2 separate regions of the Homo sapiens genome follow, and region 2 is linked to region 1. The links are contacts of gene promoters, found by promoter capture Hi-C in human tissues and cell types (Jung and others, 2019). All regions are on one chromosome and are shown on one strand. The core of a region is centred on a gene start or on the middle of the fragment in contact, and the rest is flanking DNA. Distances in the headings are between cores, read along the strand shown. Region 1 holds the start of VSTM2B (V-set and transmembrane domain containing 2B). Region 2 overlaps UQCRFS1-DT (UQCRFS1 divergent transcript).

Evidence for each region. Contacts are between HindIII fragments. The study calls those that stand out against the background at their distance.
Region 2: a fragment that was not itself captured here is called in contact with the fragment with the promoter of VSTM2B in region 1 in 1 of the 25 tissues and cell types used here (dorsolateral prefrontal cortex).

The regions. Positions count from the first base shown.
Region 1 is chr19:29,523,678-29,529,149 of GRCh38, reverse strand. It overlaps VSTM2B (V-set and transmembrane domain containing 2B), which reads right to left and starts at 3,156. Exons shown (of 5, transcript NM_001146339.2): 1 at 2,485-3,156; 2 at 1,755-1,939; 3 at 688-717. The coding sequence starts at 2,566. It overlaps VSTM2B-DT (VSTM2B divergent transcript), which reads left to right and starts at 3,400. Exons shown (of 10, transcript NR_040029.2): 1 at 3,400-3,726. It overlaps LOC124904683 (a long non-coding RNA gene), which reads left to right. Exons shown (of 2, transcript XR_007067215.1): 1 at 1-109. The HindIII fragment of the contact is 17,468 bases long and covers 1,255-5,472 here.
Region 2 is chr19:29,215,528-29,220,710 of GRCh38, reverse strand. UQCRFS1-DT (UQCRFS1 divergent transcript) reads right to left here. Exons shown (of 2, transcript NR_184022.1): 2 at 4,896-5,183. Among named protein-coding and RNA genes, the nearest start is that of UQCRFS1-DT, 4.9 kb to the right of the region's middle. The HindIII fragment of the contact is 3,089 bases long and covers 1-3,055 here.

The sequences.
Region 1 (5,472 bases), core at 1,907-4,406:
ACTTCGGGAAGTACTGCTCTACGGCTCTCAACAAACACCCAGGGAGCCCTCACCTCTGAACCGAGCCCACGAGGAGGCTTCGTCATCTCCAGGCCTTTCTACGCTCCAGGTGGGAAGCTTGGGCGCATCTCCTCCCAGAGTTAGCAACCCCATGACCCGGGCCCCTCGCAGCCTGGCACAACCACCCCCTACCCCGTCCCCTGCAAGCCTGCAACACCCCGCACCCAGACCCGCAATCCAGGCGGAGGATAAAGGGTTGCAGCGGAGGGCGCAGAGCAGATGCTCAGGGCGGGGCAGAGGGGGCGGGAAGCTGGCGCCACGGTCGCGGCGAGGGCGAGCAGCCGCGCGCTCCCGGTGCTAGGAGGAATGCCCGCAGAGCGGAGGCTGGCAGGCGCGAGAGGCCCTAAGCGCGCAGTCCGACCAAGGGGAGTTTTACAGGTCAGCGCCGAGCCGAATTAGGGGACTCAAGCCTTGGACCCTTGATTTACACAAAAGAGAACCCGACCCTGCAACCGGCGACAGATGGCGCCCGGACACGCCGAGCAGCCACCGATGCAAGGCTGCGATCGCTGCCCTACTTGCGCGGCCCCACATGCGCGGCCGCCGCGGCTTGCTAAGGGAGGGAGCTGCGGGACCCGAGGCGGCCAGAAGGGGTCTCCCGCGGCCCGCGCTGGGCTCCACACTTACGCTGATTTTAGTTGCATCCTTATTTGTTACCTAAAATGCAAAGAGGGAGAGAGAGACGTGAGGCTCGCGGCCTTCTGGCTAGGGGAACTCGGATCCGCCTTTAGGCAAGGGCACCCTCCTCCGGCAGGCTAGGACCGAAACCGCCCGGGGGATGGGGGTTGAGGGCACAAAGGACGTCCGGCTTTCCAAGAGTTTCCCAGGAGGAAGCGGGCTTTGGAGCTAGCATGGTGCCTGACCAACGGGTGGCTGCCCTGGTGCACACCTGCCGGCTGAACTGGGGAGACTGGATGGACACCAGGGTGGGAAGGAAAGCCCCTCTCCTTCCCTCTGGGCATCCTTAGGCCCTGCCGCGTGGCTCAAAATCCTCCCCCAGCTCACTGGGAGCCGTGAAGAACTGGAGGGAGGGCCGCTGTGTCTGGACAGCACCCAGCGGGAGGCTCAGTGGGAGTAACTCTGGGTGGGACCCTGGGAGAATGTAGGTGTGTGTAGGTGTAGGTGTGTGTGTAGGTGTGTGTGCACGCGAGCACACTAGAGTGTGTAAGAGAGTGTGGGTTTTGAGGCAGACAGGCAGCGTGGGCCTGTTTTCGGCCACAGAGAAGTGGCCCCTCTGTGCCCCTGAGGGCTGGAGGTCCTGCCGGCTTTCCGGTACTCGGTTTTCTGGTGGCCTCTGGAACGCAGCCGTGGGAGCCCTGGGGTCCTCAAAGTGGCAGAGGGCGGGGAGAGCCTGATGGGACCAAGGGGGCTTCCTTCACTACCCAGCACCCATCAGAGGGCCGCAGCCAGCGAGCACGAGCAAGCGACCAGGCTGAGGTGTGGCTCTTTAGGGGCTGGGCGTGAATGGAGTTCTGGGAGGTGGTGGGAACAGCGATGCTGTCAAAATAATTGACAGGTTTGGGGGTAACCACTGCTGACTTTGAAGATGCTTTGGGATGCGAAGGTGGAAGATGGGCTGCGCCACAGGGCGGCGCCCTGCGCGAGTGAAGCCCGCTGCTTCCCTCCCTGGGTTAGCCTTCGCCGCCCCGGGCGCGAGCCGGGCGCGCGCCGGTACCGCGTGGGCGGCGGGTTACCTTGCTCCGGGCGCCCGGCACGCTGAGCGCCAGCTCGTGCAGCAGCTCCCGGGGTGGCTCCTTGAGGTACCACCACTGAATCTCCAGCGAATACGAGGTGGCTCCGCTGGCCCGGAACGCGCAGGGCATTTCGATGTCGTCTCCCTCCCGTACTGTCACATCTTTGGGGACTTCTGTGAATGCAGCTGGGGGTGGGGAGAGAGAGAGAGGCGTGACCAGCTGTAGGTCGGGGGCCTGGGGCAACCTAAAGCGAGGCAGTCGGTCTCTGGCTGGCTGGCCTTGTGCCCCCCACCCCGCAGCTGCTCCCTGGCGCACGGCCGGAGGGGCTAGCAAAGTTCGGGGAAGCGGCTGCAGGGCCGAGGCAGGGACCGGCCATCGGCTGCCTACTGCTTCCCTCCGGATGGGGCGGGGCGGCAGGGGCGACTCGTGCTTCTCCCCCGCCCCTGGCCGCACCGCCAGAGCCTGGCTGGGGCGCGCCTACTCCCGCTCCCCGCAGGCATCCTTTCCGCAGCCGGGGCCCCGGCGGGACTGGGAACGACTCGGGCGCGGCGCTGCTGCTGCGGCGACCCTTCGCCGCTCGCCTCTCCCTACCCCTCCGGGCCCAGGCTGCACAGCGGGATTGCTGGAGACCGCGAAGCTTCCCGGTTCGTTCTCTTTCTTCTTCTTCTCGGTGGCGGCCCCAGCAAAGACCCCCCCGAGTCCACAGCGGCAGCAAAGTTCCCGCGCTCACCGTCGGCCACGAAGAGCAGCAGGGCATGCAGCAGCAGAGGCGGCAGGTATCCGAGGGCACCGAGCCGGTTCCGCTGTTCCATCTCCCGCGGGGGGCGCGGTGGCGGCGGGGGCCCGGGAGCGGAGAGGCGGCGGCCGCGTGGGCTCGGATCGGCTCCGGCTCGGGCTAGGACGCCTCCGAGCCTGCCATGGCCCCGCGCGGCGCCCCCTCCCCTGGCCGCCGGCGGCCGCCAATCAGCCCCGCTCCCTCGCCGGCTTGCCCGGTGCGGCTCCGGCGGGGGGCGCTGCGCGGGGTGTGCAGGAGACGCGGTCCCACCGGGAGGCTGCTGGCGATCGGTCAGTGCCTCTCTCTGTCCGGTCGTCCACAGGACGGTGGGGATCCGCGGTTCAGTCTCTGCCCGGCGGGCCGGGCAGGGGCTGGGCCGCGCCGGGACCCATCCCTGGCCGAGGGAGTGCGTGCCACGGAGCCGCGAGCTTCTGCCTCCCTGTCTCCTTCTGGTTCTGCTCCCGATTGCCACCTCCTTCGGCTCCCGCAGCCGCCCCCGCCGGTTCCTCCGCGGCTCTTTCCGCAGGGCGAGTGGGCGCTCAGCCGCGGCGCGCAGACCTGGCGTCCGACCCAGCGCAGCGCGGGGAGAGCGGGTCCGGCGTGGCGGACCCGGAGCCGGAGAGAGGCGGGGAGAGGGGGAGGGGAGGGGAAGGGAGGGGGCGGTCAGTGGCTGGGCGCCAAGCCGCCTCCACCGCTGCATCGCCCCCGCCCTCCCCTCTCCTGCCACAGCCCGCCCCGCCCCCGCCCCAGAGCGCTCCCCCTCTCTCCTCGGGGGTCGCTCGGAGGGACCACCGTCTTTCTGGTTGGAGTACAGCCCCGCCCCGCACCCGCTTGGGTTGGGAGTCCTCCCACCCAAACTCTCCCTGGCTTCTTCCCAGTCTGCACGGCTCGAGACGGCCGCTCATCCCTGCTCCCCGTGTGTCCCTCGGTCCTCTCTGCAGCTCCCAGCCCTCAACTCCTTACCCCAGTTTGGGCAACCAGCTGCCCCGCTGTTTGGCCCAGGCCTGGGCCATGACGGATGGGTGGGCGCCCGGGGCCGCGAGAAGGGCGGAACGCTGTGCCCAGCCGGAGACTACGCTGGGTGGCGGCGGCAGCGCCGGGAGTCTGCAGTGCGCGAGGGAGAAGTGAGCGCACAGCGCCCAGCGAGCAGGTGCCTGCGGCGCGGAGAGCGCACACGCTAGCCAGCCCGCAGCGGCCGTGAGTGACGGCAGGGGCGGCGGGGGTGGGGTGGGGTGGGGAGCGCCGGGCACGACTCAGGGCCCGGGAGGTTTCCGGGAGGGGGCGGGGTTCCTGCCCCTGGATCGCGGGTCCCTGTGTCTCCACGCGCTCTTCGCCGGTCGTGGCCCCTTCTTTGCCCGGTGCAAAGCGAGATGCCGAGGCGGCAGGAAGCCGGAACCCATCCCCCGCCTGCTCTGGCGTACTCGGCATCCCGGTACCTCCCCCAGCCTTCACCCGGAGTCTGCTCCCTCCCCAGCCATCTGAGGGAGCGCGGTCTGGTCCCCGAAGGCAAATGCGGGGTGGACATGTGGTTCGGACGCAGCGCGTAGTCATAGTCATAGGGGCGAGTCCTAAGGCTCGCCTTGGGTCTCTCCTATCTCCTTCCCCCGGGAGTCCCCAGCTAGTGCGTTTCGGCACCTCTGCCCCTACCCCGGCCCCTACGCCTCAGCTCTGACCTCAGGTTGGGGTGGGGCAGCCCGGTGGATTCACGTGCCTGCTTCCCCGGCTACCAGCCTCCCGGAGGCACCGCCAGAGGATTCCCTGGGAGCCAAGGAGAAGGAAACCCAGAGGGAAAACACTCTCCAGCAGCCACCCTGGTCCAGGCGGCCAGCGCAGCACAGCTCAGAGGGGAGGAGCTGCAGGCCCTCTCCAAGGCTGTCCTCGCCAGCGGGTGCCCGGGGCCAGCCCTTCTTGCCTCCAGTGCCTGCCTTTCAGTTTCCTCGTCTATGGCCCAGGAGTCACTCCCACCCCCTGGCTCACTGTGGCTCATCTATCAAGCCCTTGTTTTCTAAGGTCTCCTGCTGGGGGCAAAGGGAAGAAGGGGGTCCTATAGGACTTTCCTCCTTTCCCTCAAGTTCCTCTCTAGGGGCTCCACAGAGGCAGTTGCCAGCTCCTTCTGTCATGGCAGGAGCTTTTCCTAGGAAATCCCATGTGCCCTTAGAAACCACTTTGGACCCCCGAATGTAAGACCCTGCCAGGCCCCATTGCTGTCCTCAGCTTCTGAAGGGAGAGGGCAGACTTGCACCGCTCTATGCAGATTCAGGACCACAGCGGGGTTCCAGGAAAGCAGGCTCATTTGGGGACTGATTCCAAGCAGGGTTCTGAAGAAAGAGCTAGCCCACTGCGCAGTGGCCCACCTGGAGAGGTAGCAGTCTCCTTTCCTGATGCCAGATCCAAGCAGAGGCTAATGCTGGAGACCAGCGATGCCCGTGGGAGAATCCCTGTAGCTAGAGGGAATTATCTGGAAGTAATTTATCCCTGTACCGCCTTGTGGGGTTGGGTGTTTCTTGCCCACTGCATGAGTTGGTATTACTCTAAGAGCGACAGATACATGTTTTCACATGCTTTCCATGTACTAGACACTTTCTAGGCATCAGTTCTCAACATGACAAAGAGATCCTTCTCAGGGAAATCAGATCCCTCTTCCACTGCTGAAAAACCCCACAGTGGCTCCCATTTCACTTGGCATAAACACCAGTGGCCTTGCAGTGGCTGCCAAGGTCAAACCATCTGCCTTTCTGCTTCCTGCTCACCCTTTTCCTTCATCTTCTCATCTTTTCTGTCTTCTCCATAGCTCACACTCCCCTAGCCACACTGTTCTCCTTCCTACAATGCAGCACACTGGGCATGCTTCTACCCCAGGGCCCTTGCACCAGCCGCACCATCTGGTTGACATGCTTCTCCCACAGATACTTGCTTGGCTAACTCCGTTGTGCTCTGGTTTTT
Region 2 (5,183 bases), core at 262-2,761, 310 kb after region 1:
AGCTCTGGCATTCATGGAACAAATCATCAGTTATTTGGATTCAAATCTGACAAATTAAATTGCAAAGAATTAAATAAGTTGTAGATCAATACTGTCTAAATGATCAATTAATCATTCCCTGTAATTAAAACTACCAATTCCTAATACCTTTCAGTTAAATTTTATTGCACCATTTCTAATTCAGAGCTTTTCGGCAGTTATATTGATTGCAGGTATACTTACCTGGTAATCAAATAATTTATTAATCAGCATACTTCATTATGGAATATCTGCACATTGACTCAGAAGGCTGGTTTAGTTCAGCCTGAGTTTTATTTTTATTTTATTTTATTTTTTTGAGACAGAGTTTGGCTCTTGTTGCCCAGGCTGAAGTGCAATGGCATGATCTTGGCTCACTGTTACCTCCACCTCCTGGGTTCAAGTGATTCTCCTGCCTCAGCCTCCCAAGTAGCTGGGATTACAGGCACCCGCCACCATGTCTGGCTAATTTTTTTTGTTTTTAGTAGAGACAAGGTTTCACCATGTTGCTCAGGCTAGTCTCGAGCTCCCTCAGGTGATCCACCAGCCTTGGCCTCCCAAAGTTCTGGGATTACAGGCATGTAATATCCTGCCCAGCCCAATTTGAGTTTTATTTTAAAGATGCTGGAGGTTTGCCATTACCTGCTTGTATACGTCACACAAAGTTCCTTCTTTTGTGAAAAATAATTGCAAAAAAAATAGGTGTGTGTACTTAAAAGCAGGTAAATGGATAAACTCAAGTGGTTCCTCAAAATTATGTTTTAACCGTAATCTTTTTCATGGAGGTTTTGCAACTTAATTTATTCCCAATATGCTTAGAAAAGTGCTCTCAAGATTCAGGGATGAAAAGGCCTTTGGGAAAATGGGTGCTACCTTCATTAGTACCTTGAAATACAAATTAAATCCCAAGCACATCACAATTTGCTTTCCTGCATCTACCAATTTTGAAATAGTACAAATAAAATGTCTTACTTACCTCGTGAATTTATTATTTCAGCTGTTCATGCTGGACACCTGGTGGTTTGATTTAACTTCCCTTAATGTTTTGGGGCATCATTAGGAGAGGGAAATGAGGACCTGTAATTGTGTGTGCAGACCCTGCAGGGGCCCTGGGTGGGCTGGAGCCTCCTTTCTGCTCCCCTTGCTCACATTCAAGGTCCCCAGGGCTGTCTGGGTTTGTCTTGGAGATTCAGGGAGCCAGCTCCTCCCCAGAGAGAAGAGGGCTCTGGTGGGCTTCCCTCTGCAAAGACAGAACGTGGGCATCAGTCTCTGGATCTCAGCTTCTCCTGATTGATGGGCAAAGCTTCCACAGAGGTGTTGAGCTGGGTTGCAGCTGAGTGGATCCAGCACTTCAGGCTTGAGAACAAGATGACTGAAGGTAGGGAGCCATAGGACCACTGAGAAGGCCAGAGGTGGAGGTGGGAGAGGGGCAGAAACTGACATTACCACCTTCTCTGTCCTCTACAAACTGCCCAAGGACTTTCAGAGCCATACTCCTTCAACTTATGCCCCACACCCCGAAATCTTCCTTCCCTCCAAAAAATGTTCATTTCTCCATCAACACAGTTCATCCTAGACCCGTCTGTCTCAGAGTACTCCTCACTCTGCAGGGAGAGCTGGGGGAAGTCCCTAACAGCACGCAGAAAGGATGGCAATTTGGAACACGGAGTGGATCACATGCCGAGGGCTTCCATGCAGTCACATGCTTACACACCTTCTACCTGCATCCTCACAGAGTCCTCCGGGAGTTCCAGCCAGCAGCTGAGCAGCCGGACGGCACCATCCTTGCTCCACTTCCCTGCTTGCTGGCTCTCATTGTCCTTATTCTTGGAGAAAGAAAGTCCAAATTCTTAGCACAGTGTGCAAAGCATGAGCCCTCCAGGTCAGGGCCTGAATTAGGTGATCTCTGAGTTCCCTCTGAGCCATAGCACCCTGTCCCACCAGCCCAGGACTCCCTGCCCCTCGTCCTTTCTTTCCTCCATAGAACGTACCACCATCTGGTATATTACATGTTTGGTGGTTGTCTAGCTTCCACCACTAAAATATAAGGTCCTGGGGGCCACACGCATTTGACTGCTGTGTTTGCTGCTGTCTCTCTCATCAGCAGTGGACACACAGGGTTGCATACAGTAGTCACTGTACACAAATCTTCTGAATGGATGAATGAATGGATGAATGATCCATCTCCAAGGGCCCTTAATTACAATCATAACCAACTAACTTAGCAATTTGAAAGCCTTCTTTCATCTTCACAACCAACTTTCGAGTTAGGTATTCTTATCTCCATCCTCAGACGAGGACACCAGGGCTCAGAGGGCGTCAGTCACTTGCCCAGGTGACTCCAGCAATGGGAGGACTTAGGATCACACTTAGGCCGCCTGACTCAAGAGCCCAGGCTCTTGCAAAGTATTTGAAACAAATGAGCTCAATTAATTCCACACATTTTCAGGGGGCACATAATACAATCCAGGTGTAAAAAACACTGGGGGACTTTTGGTGCTACTGCACCAGCCTGCTTGGCAAGAGATGGATGTGTGGCTGATAGGGAAACTGATAGGGTTTTCAACAAAGCCTGAAATTAATCATACTTAATGAATGTGACTAATGTGATGAAAGAATGAGCGATTAAAATATTAGCACATCTGAACTTCTCCTCCCTGGCTAATCTCCTCCCTAGGGTTATCATCTTTCAAAGAAGTAGGGGCACAGAATTACAGAAACGGGTTTTATGGAACACAAATGCCTTTTAAATGGCTTAGATTAAGGACAGTCTGTGCAGTTCTCAAGCGGCTGTCTGTCTTCACATCTCGCTGCTCAAGTGAGGGACGTGGGCTGTGGGGAGAGGCTGAAACTGTCAAGATGGCTGCAACTGGAAATGGGAAGCCAGGCATTTCCCGGGGTAATTGTGTGGAAACAGGAGACAGGCGTGGGGTCCCTTCAGCAGGGAGGCGGTTGCCTTTCTGTGTAGGCACTAGGTGAGATGAAAGTGGCTGGGAGGCATGTTCCCTGGGGATGAGGCAAAGGCATCTTACTGGCTTTGCACATTATGCAGGATCACAGGCAGAACTACCTAGGGACCAATTTTGTTTTGAGGATGACGAATGCAGAATCCCAGCACATTTGCCTTAGAGCTCCCCTCCCTATGCCCCCTCAACACACATTGCCCAGATGAACACATCAAGGCAGTAGGGAAGAGGGCTGGGGGCGGTGGTTTGCGCCTGTAATCCCAGCACTTTGGGAGGCTGTGGCGGGCGGATCATGTGAGGTCAAGAGTTTGAGATCACCCTGGCCAACATGGCGAAACCCTAACTCTACTAAAAATACAAAAATTAGCTGGGCATGGTGGCATGTGCCTGTGATCCCAGCTATTCGGGAGGCTGAGGCAGAATTGCTTGAACCCAGGAGGCAGAGGTTGCAGTGAGCCGAGATCACACCACTGCACTCCAGCCTGGGCAACAGAGCAAAACTTTGTCTCAAAAAAAAAAAAAAAAAAAAAAAAGACTGTAGGGAACAGGAAGTGTCTAGACTACAACTCACACTTGGAACTAGGAGATTCCCCTGCATATCAGTGTTCTGCTACTCTCCGGAATCAATCGATCATGCTTGTGCAAGGAATTATATAAACCTGAGGTCCCAAACTCGAGGCCTCAGCAGATGGGCAGGTAATGTAACTGAATGGACACAGTGGGAAAGGACCCAGACCACCAAGCAGGTACCTACCCTGGCTGACAGCACCCCACCGTCTTTCTCTTTGTTGAGGACATGGGCCTCGAGTGGCTTAAAATAATGCAATTTTATTATTTTACAATTCTGGAGGTCTGAAGCCTAACACAGGTCTGTAGGGCTGCACTTCTTCTGGAGACTCTAAGGGAGAAGGTTTCCTTTCCATTTCCAGCTCTATCTCTGCCTGCAGGTCCCTCCTCTGGCCCCACCCTCAAAGCCAGCAATGTGGCATTTCTGTCCTCTCACCTCTTGCTTCCCTCTTCTAAGACCCTATGAACATGCCGCACCCACCCGGACACTGCAGGAAGACTCTCTGATATGGTTTGGCTCTGTGTCCCCACCCAGATCTCACCTTGAATTGTTACAATCCCCTTGAATTGTAACAAGGGGGGGACCAGGTGGAGGTGATGGATCATGGGGGCGGTTTCCCCCATGCTGTTCTCATGACAGTGAGTTCTCATGAGATCTGACAGTTTTATAAGGGGTTCCCCCTTCGCTCTGCTCTTATTTTCTCTCCTGCCACCCTGTGAAGAGGTGCCTCCTACCATGATTGTAAATTTCCTGAGGGCGCCCCCCCAACCAGCCGTGCTGAGCTGTAAGTGAATTAAACCTCTTTTCTTTGTAAATTACCCAGTCTCAGGTATTTCTTCATAGCCGCATGACAACAGACTAATACACTCTCCCTATCTCAATCTCCAATCACAGCTGCAACATTCCTTTGCTGTGTAAAGTAACATATTCCCAGGTTCCAGGGATTAGGCTGTGGACATTTTTGTGGGGAGGCATTATTCCATCTACCACAGTTTGTATGTGGGAGTACTCACAATTTGTAAATGCTAGCAAATAATTCTGAGGTTCATAGCACTGTGTATGCCAGATCACCAGGTGTCTCTGGGCAGAAATGAGTGGGGAGAGAATGAATCTCCAGTCCATGACTTCCGACCTCTGATTTAAACAGTGTTTGTTAAAAGGAAGGCTTGGTGTCATGCTTCCTCCTGCCTTGTTCATACATACACATTGCGTGTCAGACTTCCAGGGAACTGAGAAGCTTACCAAGCATTTATGTTCCCAGGCCTGTGGCTATTTTTTTCCCTCAGTTTACAAAACTAACAATGTTTATTAAGCTCTCATTGTATGCCAGTGTGCTAAATATCTCACATGGATTCTTTCTTTTAATTTGCACAGCAATGTCATTTTTATCCCTGTTTTACAAATAAGAAATCTGACACTCAGTAACGTTGCCCGATGTCACACAGGTAGTAAGGGGCAGAGCTGCCATGAAGGCCAGGCTGTCTGGCTCCAGAGTGAGCTGATACATGAAAGCTAAAACCCCCTTCAGTTAAATAACAACCACTGAGGGGTTGCAGTGGTGTGTACCTGTAGTCCCAGCTACTCTGGAGGCTAAGGGAGGAGGACTGCTTCAGGCCAGGAGTTTGAGACCA